Linked DNA regions of Homo sapiens: region 1 is linked to region 2. The links are contacts of gene promoters, found by promoter capture Hi-C in blood cells and fetal thymus (Javierre and others, 2016). All regions are on one chromosome and are shown on one strand. Each heading gives the region's core, a stretch centred on a gene start or on the middle of the fragment in contact. The rest is flanking DNA. Distances are from core to core; before and after follow the strand shown. Region 1 holds the start of ESS2 (ess-2 spliceosome associated protein). Region 2 holds the start of CLTCL1 (clathrin heavy chain like 1).

Region 1 (6,611 bases), core at 4,112-6,611, 150 kb after region 2:
GTGCAGTGTTGGATGTTTTCGCGGGGATTCTGGGACCAGTGGGAAAGCTGGAGGACAGGCGGCTCTGAAGCACCGAGGAGGGGCCTCGGAAGGGGCGGGGAGGTCTCCTTGACACAGGTGAGGAGACGGAGAACTGGGGGCACCCGGCAGCCCAGGCTTCCTGCCGCGCTCTCACGCCCTCCAGGGCCATGAGACCCTGGCTCCGAGGTGGCGGGCAGGTTCGGGACCCGAGCGCGGCGGGATCGTGCGGTTGCCGGTGGTGCTGGGCCCCATGGAGGCTGCGGTCCAGGAGTTTCGGGTGGGCGGCTAGGCCGAGCTTCTGCAGGCGTGCTGAGCCGCCGCAGTAGGGCCCCAGAGGGGACGAGGAATTAGGCCCAGCCGAACGAGGGGGAGCCACCAGAGGCTGGGCCGGGAGGCACCGCCGCGCTCTGGGGAGCTGCCAGGGTCGGGGCGCCCTCCGAGCGGCTGCCAGGCCCCGCGGGCGGCGGCGAGGCGGCCCTCCGCCCCTTCCCCGCAGGTCGCCCTGCCAGCTTGAGCGGCGGGCGCGGGTGGGGCAGGAGGACGCGGGGCGGGGTGGGGGGCACAGGGGGCCCTCTCTGCAGCGCCCCCGGCCCCCGCGCGCGGAGGCAGGGCCGCCGCAGTCGAGGATTAGCGCGTTCGCGGCCGGCGCTGCGGGATTAACCCGCGTGGACTGGACGCCCGGCCCGGGGATTACTGCGCGCTCCCTCCCCGACGTATATATTCCCGCGGCGGCGGCGCCCCGGCCGGGCCGGGCATGGCGGCAGCGGCTGGGGGCGCGGCGAGCCGCCGGGGTGCCGGGCGGCCCTGCCCCTTCTCCATCGAGCACATCCTCTCCAGCCTGCCCGAGCGGAGCCTCCCGGCCCGGGCCGCCTGCCCACCGCAGCCCGCCGGTCGCCAGAGCCCCGCGAAGCCAGAGGAGCCCGGGGCGCCCGAGGCTGCGCCCTGCGCCTGCTGCTGCTGCTGCGGCCCCCGCGCGGCGCCCTGCGGGCCCCCAGAGGCGGCCGCCGGGCTGGGTGAGTGGGCGCGGAGCGGGGCGCGGGGCCCGGCGGAGCCCGGGGCGCGGCGCAGTGGGTGCCGAGCTTGGCCCCAGCCCCGCGCCTCACCGCGCCCTCGCTCCGCAGGCGCTCGTCTGGCGTGGCCGCTGAGGCTGGGACCGGCGGTGCCCTTGTCTCTGGGTGCGCCAGCCGGAGGTTCCGGGGCGCTCCCGGGCGCGGTCGGCCCGGGTTCGCAGCGGCGCACGAGGCGCCACCGCACCATCTTCAGCGAAGAGCAGCTGCAGGCGCTCGAGGCGCTTTTCGTGCAGAACCAGTATCCTGACGTGAGTACGCGCGAGCGCCTGGCCGGCCGCATCCGCCTTCGCGAGGAGCGCGTGGAGGTGAGTGCCCCGCCCAGCCTTTCCCCGGAGCGCGCGGGCCGCGGCTACACTGGACTGGGGTCCTGGCGGGCGGGCGCCCTTTGCAAAGACGGCCTCGGCCCAAGCCCCGCCCTGGCGCGCCGGAGGGAGGAGGTCCCTGGACGGCGCTGGGCGTCCGGGGGTATGAGGAGCGGGTGAGAGCAGGGAGGTGCCGCGGGAAAGGAACCGGAGGGCTACTTTTCTTTTCTTTTGTTTTACACTTTCCTCTGGTGACGAAAGAGGCCCGCGTTCACGTCCAGAATTTGGGAAATTCAGAAGAGCCCGCAACCCAAGAAGGGGCGTCCTGGTCGCCGCCAGCTGGAGGCTGGGGCGGGTACTAAGGGGGTTCCCATCTCGCGTCCAGACCCACCGAGTCTGTCCGCAGCGAATAAGGGCAGGTGGCGCGCAGCCGCGGCCCGGGTGTCGGCTCTACAGCGCCGTCCGCCCACATCCCTGTTGCGAAGCTCCCCTCTCGGTCCCTGTGGGACCCTCGGGAGCCGGTGGGACGCAGGACCTGGGGCTAGGGCTGAGCATTCCCCCCATCCCCAGGTCTGGTTCAAGAACCGCCGGGCCAAATGGCGACACCAGAAGCGCGCGTCGGCTTCCGCGAGGCTCCTGCCCGGCGTCAAGAAGTCCCCGAAGGGGAGCTGCTGATGACTCTAGGAGCTGCCCCTGGGCTCGGCCACCCTTTTTGGGATCTTTGGAGTTGGCGCTGAGAGAAGACAGGTCTACCCGAAAAGGAGCTGGGAGAGTACACCGGCCGCCTCCACCCGTCTCCACAGCCCTTGCCTCCTGCAGCTCGTGCTGCCGTGGCGCTGGGGACGGGCCCCCGGTGCTTGGTGTTCCACGGCAGTGGGAGTGGCGAGTCCCTTGGGGGTGGGCTGGGGCATAGAGCAGTTTCCTCAGCTCCCTACCCCCCGAGAGACACTAACTCCACCGCAGGAGGGGAACCACCCCGTATCAACACGGGACCCAGAATCCTACGCAGTGGAGCGTCTCTCCGCACCCTGGGACATGCTGGCCACCCTCTTCTCAATGTGGACATTGACCTAACTTGACCTGGCTCGTCCTCCCCCAGCGGGAGAGGGGATGGGGTTCGTGTCTGTGCAGTCCTGGCGTTGCAGGCTTCCCAGGCCCTGGGCTGGGTCTTGGTATCTGGACCTGTAGAATAAGAAGGTCGCAGGAGCGATTCCAGGAGCCCCTCCACAGTCCCTTCACCTTCGAGCCTCGCGCTGATACTGAGAAACTAGCAACTTCAAATACCACAGAAGCCGCCCAGAGTCTCAAGTCCACCTTGGCTCCACTCCCACACCCAACAAGGAGCTGTCCCTTCTTCTTCCTTCCCAGCGAGGGGGTATTTAGGGTACAGCTGTCTTTGAGAGGAGCACAGCTCAGCGATCCTCAGTCTCTGCACCAGGGTGCTCCCCAGCAGAGGGGACTGCTCCACGGATGGTGGCCTTGGACCCCTGGGGTCCAGCCCTGGCCTCTAGGCTACTGTGAACCTGCCCATGGGTGAGGGTCCCCTGCTTCCTCCTGGGGTTTTCATGCTGTGGGCTCGGACTCCCTCACAGCAATCTGTGCCATCCTAGGGTAGGGCAAGAGGAGGTTGGACTGGGGAGACCCCGCCCCTGCTGCCTGGGAAGATGCCTGCCCTCCCCTTCTTTATCCTGGCCCATGGCAAAAGGCACAGTGGAAAGAAGCCTTAGATTCCCCAAGTAGGCCCTACAGTGGGTCCAAAGCATCTCACATCCCCACCCCCAGCTGGCTTGAGCACCTCGTTCTGTCTCCTTACAGGCCCTGCAGGGAATGGGGCCATTCTACCTGCAAGAGATGAAGTCCATCTCTAAAAGCAGGACTGCAGAAGCCAGGGCTGCAGCTCCCCAGACACCCCAAGGCTGGCCAGCTTGGATAACACCAAGCAAGCATGGTGTCCCCAGTCAGAACTGCCCTGACACTGCTGGGTGTCCCTAGCATCCCCGCCTCCACCCCTAGCATGCACACAAAGCCCTTCTCCCTGAACCCTGGTCTTGCCCTTGGGGACTGAACAGACTACCTGTGGACATGCCCGTGTCCCAGTCAGCTCCCTTGCAGCTGGGGACACTCGCATCTCACAGGCTCCAGGCCCCTTGAGTTCCTTGGTTGAATGGCCATCTGTCATTGTTTTGGGAGCCCCGATCAGAGCTTGTGGAGCGCCACCTTCCAGGGCTCAGTGGCTGTGTTGCTCTCCTGAATTTGCTTCTTGAGCTCTAGCTGCTCCTTGGCAGGCTGACCCCCCACAGCAGGCTATTAACATAGGCATCCTTCACGCTCACACCCAGGCGCTCGCTTCTCATCTTCACCCTCTTCCCGGTTTATCTTTTACCCTCAGACTCCAATTCCCATCTTTCTGCCACATTTACATCTCAAGCCAGGCACTTCCCCTGAGCCAGGTATTTATCTCCAGCTGTCCCCTTGAAGCCCACAGACTCCTTAAGGTCACCTTGTCCACAGTGAGCTCTTCTGTGCAAACCAGGCACATGAGCCAGAGAGCTAGCCGCCCACCCGAAACTGGTCCCTGGACCCCTCCCTCTCCTGATCATCCACTATACCCAGGCTGACAGGAAGTCAGTTTTACTGTTTATCAATAAATCAATAAATCCCAGAATCTCTCCAGCTCTAACTGCACCAGTCTGATGTAAGCCACCGTCACCTCTCACCTTGACCACTGCAACTGTCTCTAATCTTGTCCACCTGCACCACACTGGCTCTGCTTTTTTGTTTGTCGGTTGGTTTGAGACAAGGTCTCGCTCCATCACCCAAGCTGGAGTGTAGTGGTGCAATCATGGCTCACTATAGCCTCCAGCTCCTGGGCTCAAGCGATCCTCCCCCATCAGCCTTCTGAGTAGCTAGGACCACAGGTGGGCACCACCACACCCGACTAACTTGAAAAGTTTTTTGTAGAGATGAGGTCTTGCCATGTTGGCCAGGCTGGTCTCAAACTTCTGACCTCAAACTATCCGCCGGCCTAGGCCTTCCAAAGTGCTGGGATTATAGGCATGAGCCACTGTGCCTGGCCTGCCCCTTCAATTCAGAATGAAGACAAACCACCTCACCATACCCTACAAGGCCCTGTGCAGCCTGGCCCTGCCTCTCTGGCATCATCTCACACCTCACTGCACTCTGCATTTCCAAAGGACTTCTTTAGAACTTGCCTTGCTCCCTCCCACCACTAGGCCTTTGCACATGCTCTTTCCACCTGACTGTTGCCGGTTTGTTCGTCTTTTGAATCTGCAATCACTTTCTGCCTGGGGAAGCTTCTCTGACCTCCCGAACTAGGTCAAGATTCCCCAAGTACAAACTCTTTTCTTGCACGGACACAGCTGCAATTTTACACCTGTTTGTGTGATGATCTAACAAGTGTCTCTGTCTTCCCCATTGCACTGTCACTTCTACAAGGGCAGCAGCAGCACGCTGCACTTCAGTGAATGAAGGTATCCCTGTATGTTGCAAAAGCAAAATTGTATTAAATTGTTCCAGGGCGGAATTTATTTGTCCAACACAATTCACATCTTTCGTTTGGGAAGAAATTCCTTAAAAATGCCGAGGCAATTTTCTGGTTCACTTGAATATTAATTTTTTTTTTTCTTGACAGAGTTTCACTCTGTCACCCAGGCTGTAGTGCAGTGGCACAATCTCTGCTCACTGCAGTTTCCACCTCCTGGGTTTGAGTGATTTTCCTGCCTCAGCCTCCCAAGTAGCTGGGACTACAGGCACCTACCACCACTTTGTATTTTTTTTTTTTTTTAGTAGAGTTGGGGTTTCACCATGTTGGCCAGGCTGGTCTCAATCTCCTGACTTCAAGTGATCCACCTGCCTGGGTCTCCCAAAGTGCTGAGGTTACAGGCGTGAGCCACCGTGCCTGGTCTTGAATGAGAATGATCCCTCTTCTGGGAAGCCCACTCTGGCATTTGGGGGCCCAATAATCTTTTTTTTTTTTTTGACAGAGTTTTGCTCTTGTTACCCAGGCTGGAGTGCAATGGTGCAATCTCAGCTCACTGCAACCTCCGCCTCCTGGGTTCAAGCAATTCTCCAGCCTCAGCCTTCCGAGTAGCTGGGATTACAGGCGTCCACCACCATGCCCAGCTAATTTTTTTGTGTGTTTTTAGTAGAGATGGGGTTTCATCTTGTTGGCCAGGCTGGTCTAGAACTCCTGACCTCAGGTGATCCGCCTGTCTTGGCCTCTCAAAGTTCTGGGATTACAGAATAATCTTTAGACATTTCTTAATCGAACCACTGTCTTGTTCTTTCACCTTTTGTTAGATAACTATAAAAAAAAAAAAAAGATTGTTTTGGCCGGGTGCGGTGGCTCACGCCTGTAATCCAGAGACCAGCCTGACCAACATAGAGAAACCCTGTCTCTACTAAAAATGCAAAATTAGCCGGGCGTGGTGGCCCATGCCTGTAATCCCAGCTACTCGGGAGGCTGAGGCAGGAGAATCCCTTGAACCCGGGAACTCCGGTGAGCCGAGATCATGCCATTGCACTCCAGCCTGGGCAACAAGACCGAAACTCCGTCTCAAAAAAAAAATTGTTTTAAGGCCCTTTTCTTGCATAAAGCTTGAAACTCCTATATAAGTAAATTTCCTGGTTTGTATTTTTGTAGAATAATCTCGAAGCATACATAGTTCTTATTTGTGGGAAATTAGAATTCTAAGGCCTTTGGACGCTGCAAAGCCAGAATTTCTCGCGTGAAGAACACGCCCTATAGCATCCTCCCCGCCACCTCCACAGCACCCCCTCGTGTTCACAGCATTGACAAGCATGAATAGCGCGGGGCAGGACAAGGACTACATTTCCAATAAAGTCTAGCATTTATAGTGACGTCAGAACGGAGCGCGGGCTGGCTTTCTAGAGCCACAGCTTTTCCATTGGCCAACTATTGGAGGCGCCTGCGCAAATGGTGCAGTCCCGCCCCCTCCACCCTGTGACGCGCCTGCTGGGCCCGAGCTTTTTCCTGGGATAGCGATGGAGACGCCGGGCGCATCAGCGTCGTCCTTGTTGCTTCCCGCCGCGTCCAGGCCCCCGAGGAAGCGCGAGGCGGGAGAGGCTGGGGCTGCGACGAGCAAGCAGCGGGTCCTGGACGAGGAAGAGTATATCGAGGTACGACCTCGGTGCGGACGCCGGCGACTTCTGGGCCCATCCTCTGCTTCAAGCTCCT
Region 2 (7,083 bases), core at 2,212-4,711:
CTGGAATTGGCAGATGCCTTTCAAGAAAAAGCAGCCATAAACCACTCACCTCTCTCATGTCCTTTCTCTCTGATATTGGCCTCATAATTATTCACTGCCTTTTTAGTTCTCTGAAGCTGTCTGAAAACTAAAGTCCTCCAGTGACTTTTTCTTTTTTAAAGACAGGGTCTTTCTCTGTTGCCCAGGCTGGAGTATAGTGGTACGATCATAGCTTACTGTAACCTTGAGCTCATGGGCTCAAGTGATCCTCCTGTTGCAGCCTCCCAACTAGGCCTATAGACATGCATCACCATGCCCTGTTAATTTTTAAATTTTTTTGAAGAGATGGGGTTGACCAGGCTGGTCTTGAACTCCTGGGCTCAAGCAATCCTCCTACCTCAGCCTCCCAAAGCGCTGCGATTATACGCCTCCACAGACTTTTCAATTCCACCTATAGGAAAGTCCCATGGGAATTGGAATTTAGCTATAACATGTCGTTTCTTGTACCAGTTATTAAATAATGTCTTTCAGCTCTATTCTCCCTTCCCACCTCTAGACACTGCTTCTGATGCCAGGGCTGAGACTCTAAAAAACATATTTCTCATTGGCAAATAAAGAAGATCTGATCTAATATTCCCTATTAGACTAAGCTGATAGGTTGATAGAGGGAGACCACAGGGCCACTTCCTGTGAGCATCACCCCAGCTAGGCTTCTTCAACAAGGCAGCAGCACATTCTTCCCACAGAAGCTGAATCCAGTTTAAGTTTTTCCAAGACTTGCAGAACCAGCCTCAGTATGCCTTCTCCTTAGAGATCTGGGTGAGAGTCTCCCAGTGCCCTCTTTAGAGGGCTTACTCCCAGCTCCACAGCCACCCCTCATCCATAGTGTGTGTCTAAGTCCCGTAGGGACCCTCCTCAGAGGTCTGAGTCCCATCCCCATGGGATCTCTCCTCTGGGCTCAATGACCCCAGCCCCAGCTGGTCAACACACCTCCTCAGAGATCTGAATTCCAGCTCTGCAAGCCCTTCCTTTAAGCTGTAATAATTCCAGCTTCTCTTTCATCTTTGAGCTCTAGGGGTGGTAGCTGTGTCCTATGTTTGTAACTCCATATCTTGGGATTTTCTTTTTATTATTTTAAATTTACTTCCTGTTAACTATTGTTTATATTCAGTTCCCTTTGTTTAAATAACTGATGCACTTTCTCTCTCTTCTGTGGTTTGAAGGTTTGTGTCCCCTTCAAAATTAATGTTGAAACTTAATCCCGGGCCAGGCGCGGTGGCTCACACCTGTAATCCCAGCACTTTGGAAGGCCGAGGTGGATGGATCACCTGAGGCCAGGAGTTTGAGACCAGCCTGGTCAACATGGTGAGACCCTGTCTCTACTAAAAATGAAAAATTAGCCAGGTGCGGTGGCGTGCGCCTGTAGTCCCAGCTACTTGGGAGGCTGAGGCAGGAGAATGGCTGGAACCTGAGAGGCAGAGGTTGCAGTGAGCAGAGATCGTGCCACTGCACACCAGCCTGGGCGACAGAGCGAGACTCTTGTCTCAAAAAAAAAAAAAAAAAAAAAAGAATTGAAAGGTTTTTTTAGGGTTACTTAGCAAGTTACCTACAAGTGGTGAGAATATTAAAGTCCCTTTCAAGTCAGAACATTTAATTTTTTTACAAGTATATTAACAACTTTATTTCCTGTTAACTACAACTATCACTTATATTCACTTCTGTCTATTCAAATAACTGTTGTGCTTTCTGTCTCTTCTATGGTTTGAAGAGACAGAAAGATTTGTGTCTCCTCTAAAATTAATGTTGAAACTTAATCCCCACTTGAGGTCCCGACGTATTAACAATCCTGTCACTTTGCTTAACTATGATTTTCTTAAATTCTTTCTTTTAGGGTATAAAATTTTAGTTTTAATCCCCAAAAAGCCCTGGGGAAGGTGATTTAGGGAGTGATGGTATTAATTACTAAAAAATTTATATAATGTTTGGGGTAAAGGGTACTTGGAGTCACAGGCATCATTGCCAAAATAAAGAGATTTGGGAAATGTAGTACTAACCACAGCAAAACCCAGCTCTATATTTAGCGGATGAGGCCACATGGATTTTAGAAAGGGCGGGCTGCAGAGGTCTTGGCTAATACTGGAAAAGAGATTTAATTTGAAAGTGAACAGTCTGTTCTATTCCTTAACATATTTTTGGCTACTAGATGGTCAAGCCATTGCGCAAATAATTGCACCATCCTTGTCTTATTCAAGGTGGGCCGTTCATTTCTTAAAATTACCAGTGAGCAACATGGGAAGCAGCAGAGACGGCTATCGATTACCCCGTAGGGAGTGCCTGTGCTGAATGCCAAGGGCTTCCCTTTCCTGACAGACATCTTTTATGCAGCTGAATCATCTGTATGCAAAACATCAGCCAACGGTGCCTCGGAAAAACAACTGGCTGCTGGGCAAACCAGGTGTGGGCTCCAGCTTCCACCTGCTACTACTGTCGTGCAGCCACGGGCACTCTGGGTGATCCTCACTGGCCTGGGGCTGGTCATCTGCTGCTAGATGACCTTCGCTGACTCTCTACATTGATATTCCGACACAGTGTTCTCTAGAAACCGCATGAGCCAGGAAAGGTGTTTCCTAAAGGAGCAGGGGCCGAGCCTCACGCCGAAACACGTCTGTAACACGTACAGTCACGCGTCCCATGCATCCATGCATTCTGAGACATGCGTCTCGGTTGTGGGATCATCACAAGGTAACTTACACAAACTCAGATGGCACAGCCACTACACAACTAGGCAGCTGATGCGGTCCGCTGCTGCTAGGCCGCAAACCCGCACCGCGTGTGAGGTGCGTTATTCCCCTGGCACGGTAATGACATACCTGTACGTGTATCTCCAAATACAGGAGAGGAAATGTCCTTAGCTAAGCCCTCACCAGAGGACAGGAAGTTTCCAGCTCCGTTATCATGTTATGGGACCACCGTCATATACACGGTCCTCCTCAGACCAAAAGGTCGTTCGTTATACGGCACATGTGGTTCTTCCAAGACCCTTTTCCATCTTTCTGTCACATCCGTGCCTGAGTAAAAAGTGGCCCTGAACTCAACCGTCCAGAGTTGGCGGCAGAACTAGCACCACTGGCCCGCTCCACATGTGGAAGGCGCTGGGCAAGGGCCGCCGCAGACCCCATCAGGATTAATCCCCCGAAAACCTTTCACTCGGGTAGCTGGCACACACCGCGTCAGGGCAGAGGGCGCGCGGGACTACTTTCCGCGGACCCTCGGAGCGGGCGGAGGGATCCGCGCAGGCGGGACGGGGCAGAGGCGGGGGCAGGGGCGGGGGCAGGGGCGGGGGCAGGGGCGGGGCAGAGGCGGGGCAGGGGCGGGGCAGGGGCGGGGGAAGGGGCGGGGAAAGGGGGTGCGGGCCGGGGCGCGGTCAGGGAGGAGGGCGGGGGCCAGGACCGGGAGCTCGGGGCACTGCGCCTGCGCCGTCGCCACCGGTCAGCCCGCGCGAGGGGTCGGCGTTCATTCCTGCCGCTGCCGCCGCCGCCGCCGAGGTCCCGCACCAGCCATGGCGCAGATCCTCCCTGTTCGCTTTCAGGAGCACTTCCAGGTGAGGCCCGGCGGGCTGGGGGGCTGCCCTGTCAGCCGCGCCTCCGCCGGGCCGGACTGCCAGGCTTGACCCCGCGCCCCCAGCCCCGCTGAGCCGCTGCCCAGCTGGCCGCGCCGATTTCCGACCTCCCACCTGGGCTGGGGCTGCGGCGTCCCGGGCGCGGCGGCCGCTCCTGAGGACCCGCTTGGGTGCCGTCGCCGAAGCCCGTTACCGGCGGGGCCGGCTGGGGAATGGTGGGGGTGGAAGCCAACGCCCCCTGGGACGCCCCGCTCAGTGCCCGCGAGGAGGCACACAAATTCCCGCTGCAGGCAGGGCAACCCAAGGGCCGCGCGGATCCCACAGCTCCACGCCCCTCCTTGGCGTCCTGCGGTCCTTATTCGCCCCTGAGTTTGCCTCTGTGATCGGTTTTCGTCCCCAGGGCGGCTTCGCCTGGGAGGACCGTGAACATGCGTGACCCAAGAGAAAAATTTCTCAGGGCCAAGCCTAAATAGGGCTTTTCAATGCAGTAACACCCCCAAAGCCTGCCTTTTTAATAAGGTCCCAGTTTGTTCTCCATTTGTTTGTGTTCAGAAACATAAGGACTGGCCCCCTGCTTTGAGCAAAGGCTCAGGTCGGGCGTCGTGCGGGCCGCTCGCGGGTCTGCCCGGGAGCGGTGCTGGTCCCCACGTTTACCCTGGGAGGTGCGGCAGAGGAGGGATAGCCAGCGGCTCCTCCCTGAGTGCTCTGTGTTAAATCATCACACTACCATTCGTTGCGATTCGCTTACTCTTTTCTAGATGAGGAAACCGAGTCTCAAAAGTGTTAAAGAACTCATCTTCATTCAATAAGAACAGGATTCAGACTCAAGTCTTTTTGACCACAAAGTAGTACATCGAGGAACGTGCTTGCTTGAAAGTTCCTATTTTCACAGTGCAGAGCACTGTTAGCCCTAGATGCAGACGGGAAAAGCCTTGGGAACTGTGTAGTGCAGTCCAGTCCCCTCATTCTGCAGACTGGAAACTTGATATCCAGGGGATCCTGCCAGGGTCACTTGGTTAGTGACACAGTGGAAGTTGTATGGAGGTGGGAGTGCCCTGACATCTGTCCGGGCTTCATTCTGCCACTAAGCTAAGCCAGCACCAGTCATGTTGAGGTAGCAAAATACTGCTGCTGCTCATAATAATGATGATGATGTAGTTATCATTTACTGAGCCGTTTCTCTTGCCACTCACTAGACTACTGTATTTTATAAATCTGGTTTAATTTAATCCTCATGATAACTGAGGCAGATAGTGATATCCTGTTTTCTACCATGGGTCACTGAGGTTAATATTCTAATTCCTTCAGCAAAAGTTACATGGCTAGTAAGTGACAAAGCTTGAGTTCTAACCCAGGTCTGATTCCAATGCCTGTGCTTAACCACTATCTAAATATGTTCTTTTCAAAGGGCAAGAAAGCAACAAGATATTTTAGGTGTCCATCAGAGTTTCTAATGTCCATCAGGATTTGTAATGTCCATCAGAGTTGATATGTTCCATTATCTGGAAAATGCTTGTGGCTTGTGGTGGGCAGCCACGTGAATGCAAGTCTGGTTTGTGGTCTCTAACACTGACTGGGTCTTTGAGGCTGCTGTGCATTCTGTAGAGCAAACACTGAGTCAGCACACACTGCCTTCACTACAGACATTTCGAGACTTCAGCCTGTTCCTTAAATCCCTGATCCTGCCACTCCTGCCTTGCAACCAGCAGATGACTTGGAGAAAACTGAAGCCATAACTGGGATGTTTCTCACCTATATGGCTGCAGACTTAGATGTTTGTCTGCAGCCACCCTTTCCTGCCTTCCTGTTACCTCAAAAGTAGGTGTCCTTTCTTGTCTATGTTCTGGATCTGGTATCCTTCTTCCCTATAAGGGAGCCTCGTTCAGTCATAGCCTCCCTTTCCTGTATTTTCATCCTTCTGTCTTGTTGTTTCTTCCTGTTTGTGTTGGGCAATGCTCACCTCTCTTCCATCTGTACAACCAGCAAACTTCTTCCCCCGCTCTTGTCCCCACGAAGCTCTTGTCTCATAGCTGGATGTCATGAAAGAGCTGCTTTAGTGCTTCATTATTTTTATGTTCCACAGTAACCTGCAGTCTGGCTTTTGTCCCCATTTTTTCCCCTGAATCTGTTTTTGCCAAGGTTACAAGCCATCCTGCAGGCTTTTTTGTAAGGGCCACATTCTGTCTCTGTCCCATATTCTTACATTTTTTAACCTTCTAAAAATATGAAAAAGACTTTTAGTTTAGCCATACAAAAGCAGGCTGCAGTTGGCTAATCTTTGCTGTAAAAAATAAAATCAGGCCGAGCATGGTGGCTCACACCTGTAATCCCACCACTTTGGGAGGCCGAGGCGGGTGGATCACCTGAGATCAGGAGTTCGAGACCAGCCTGGCCAACATGGTGAAACCTCGTCTCTACTAAAAATACAGTATTAGCCGGGCGTGTTGGTACGCACCTGTAGTCCCAGCTAGTCAGGAGGCTGAGGCGGGAGAATCTCTTGAACCCGGGAGGCAGAGGTTGCAGTGAGCCAAAATCATGTCACTACTCTCCAGCCTGGGTAACAGACCGAGACTCCGTCTCAAAAAATAAGATGCGATGAGCTAGGTGAGATAAAGCCCATCACACCACACGCATCTTCTGTGATGTCCAGCCGCATTTGATGCTGCACTTTACTGCCTCCTGAGGGTCCTTTCTCTACTGTTTTTGGTTCCACAGTTTCCCAGGGTTTCTCCTTCCTCTCTGCCCACACCCACTGCCCCATGGGCGGCTCTTGTGCATGAGCTTGGAATCTGTCTTGAGCCCCTCTGCTTTTTCATTCAGGACATGCTGCTGGTGATGTTATGTATTCCCATAAGCTTGATGTTCCCAAGCCATCCGAGTGTTTTCGCAGTTTCACTGCTGTGTGTGTGTGAGGCAGTAGCAGGTCCTGGTTAAGAGCACAGACTGAGGCCAAACTGAAGGCACTGAATGTGGACTCAGGCACTTACTGGCTGTGTGATTTAGGGCAATGTTTGTAGCTTTTTTGTGCTTCTATATCTTCATCTATAAAATAAGGATAAAAGGTATACTTCTTATCTCACAAGGTAGTTGTGAGGTTTTTGAGTTAATAAATGTAAAGCATTAAACAATAACTGTTACATAATACAGTAGTCCCGATTTACCCATGGGGAATATGTTCTAAGACCCCCAGAGGATGCCTGAAACTGCAGATTGTTCTGAACCCTTTATACACTTTTTTTCCCTATGCATACATATGTATGATAAAGCTGAATTTATGTTAAGCACAGTAAGAGATTAACAATGATAACTAATAATAAAACAGAACAATAATAACAATATGCCAGCATCACTACTGTTGGACTTTGGGGCCATTATTAAGTAAATTAAGGGTTACTTGAACACAAACTCTGTGATGCTGCAACAGTCAACCTGGTAACTGACCGCTACTAAGTGACTAATGGGCTGGCAATGTCTACAGCGTGGAT

Evidence for each region. The method cuts DNA at HindIII sites, captures the fragments that hold promoters and counts their contacts. A CHiCAGO score of 5 or more calls a contact.
Region 1: a fragment that was not itself captured here is called in contact with the fragment with the promoter of CLTCL1 in region 2 in 1 of 17 cell types (naive CD8 T cells); the score reaches 5.4 in naive CD8 T cells.

The regions. Positions count from the first base shown.
Region 1 is chr22:19,144,448-19,151,058 of GRCh38, reverse strand. ESS2 (ess-2 spliceosome associated protein) reads left to right here and starts at 6,408. Exons shown (of 10, transcript NM_022719.3): 1 at 6,408-6,553. The coding sequence starts at 6,419. It overlaps GSC2 (goosecoid homeobox 2), which reads left to right and starts at 767. Exons shown (of 3, transcript NM_005315.2): 1 at 767-1,034; 2 at 1,143-1,396; 3 at 1,964-4,066. The coding sequence starts at 776. The coding sequence ends at 2,068. RefSeq lists an enhancer at 1,316-1,815. The HindIII fragment of the contact is 1,303 bases long and covers 4,710-6,012 here.
Region 2 is chr22:19,288,097-19,295,179 of GRCh38, reverse strand. It overlaps CLTCL1 (clathrin heavy chain like 1), which reads left to right and starts at 3,461. Exons shown (of 33, transcript NM_007098.4): 1 at 3,461-3,580. The coding sequence starts at 3,539. LOC105372859 (a long non-coding RNA gene) reads right to left here and starts at 3,233. Exons shown (of 6, transcript XR_938002.3): 1 at 2,850-3,233. RefSeq lists silencers at 3,343-3,582, 3,464-3,648 and an enhancer at 3,759-4,272. The HindIII fragment of the contact is 6,040 bases long and covers 1-4,938 here.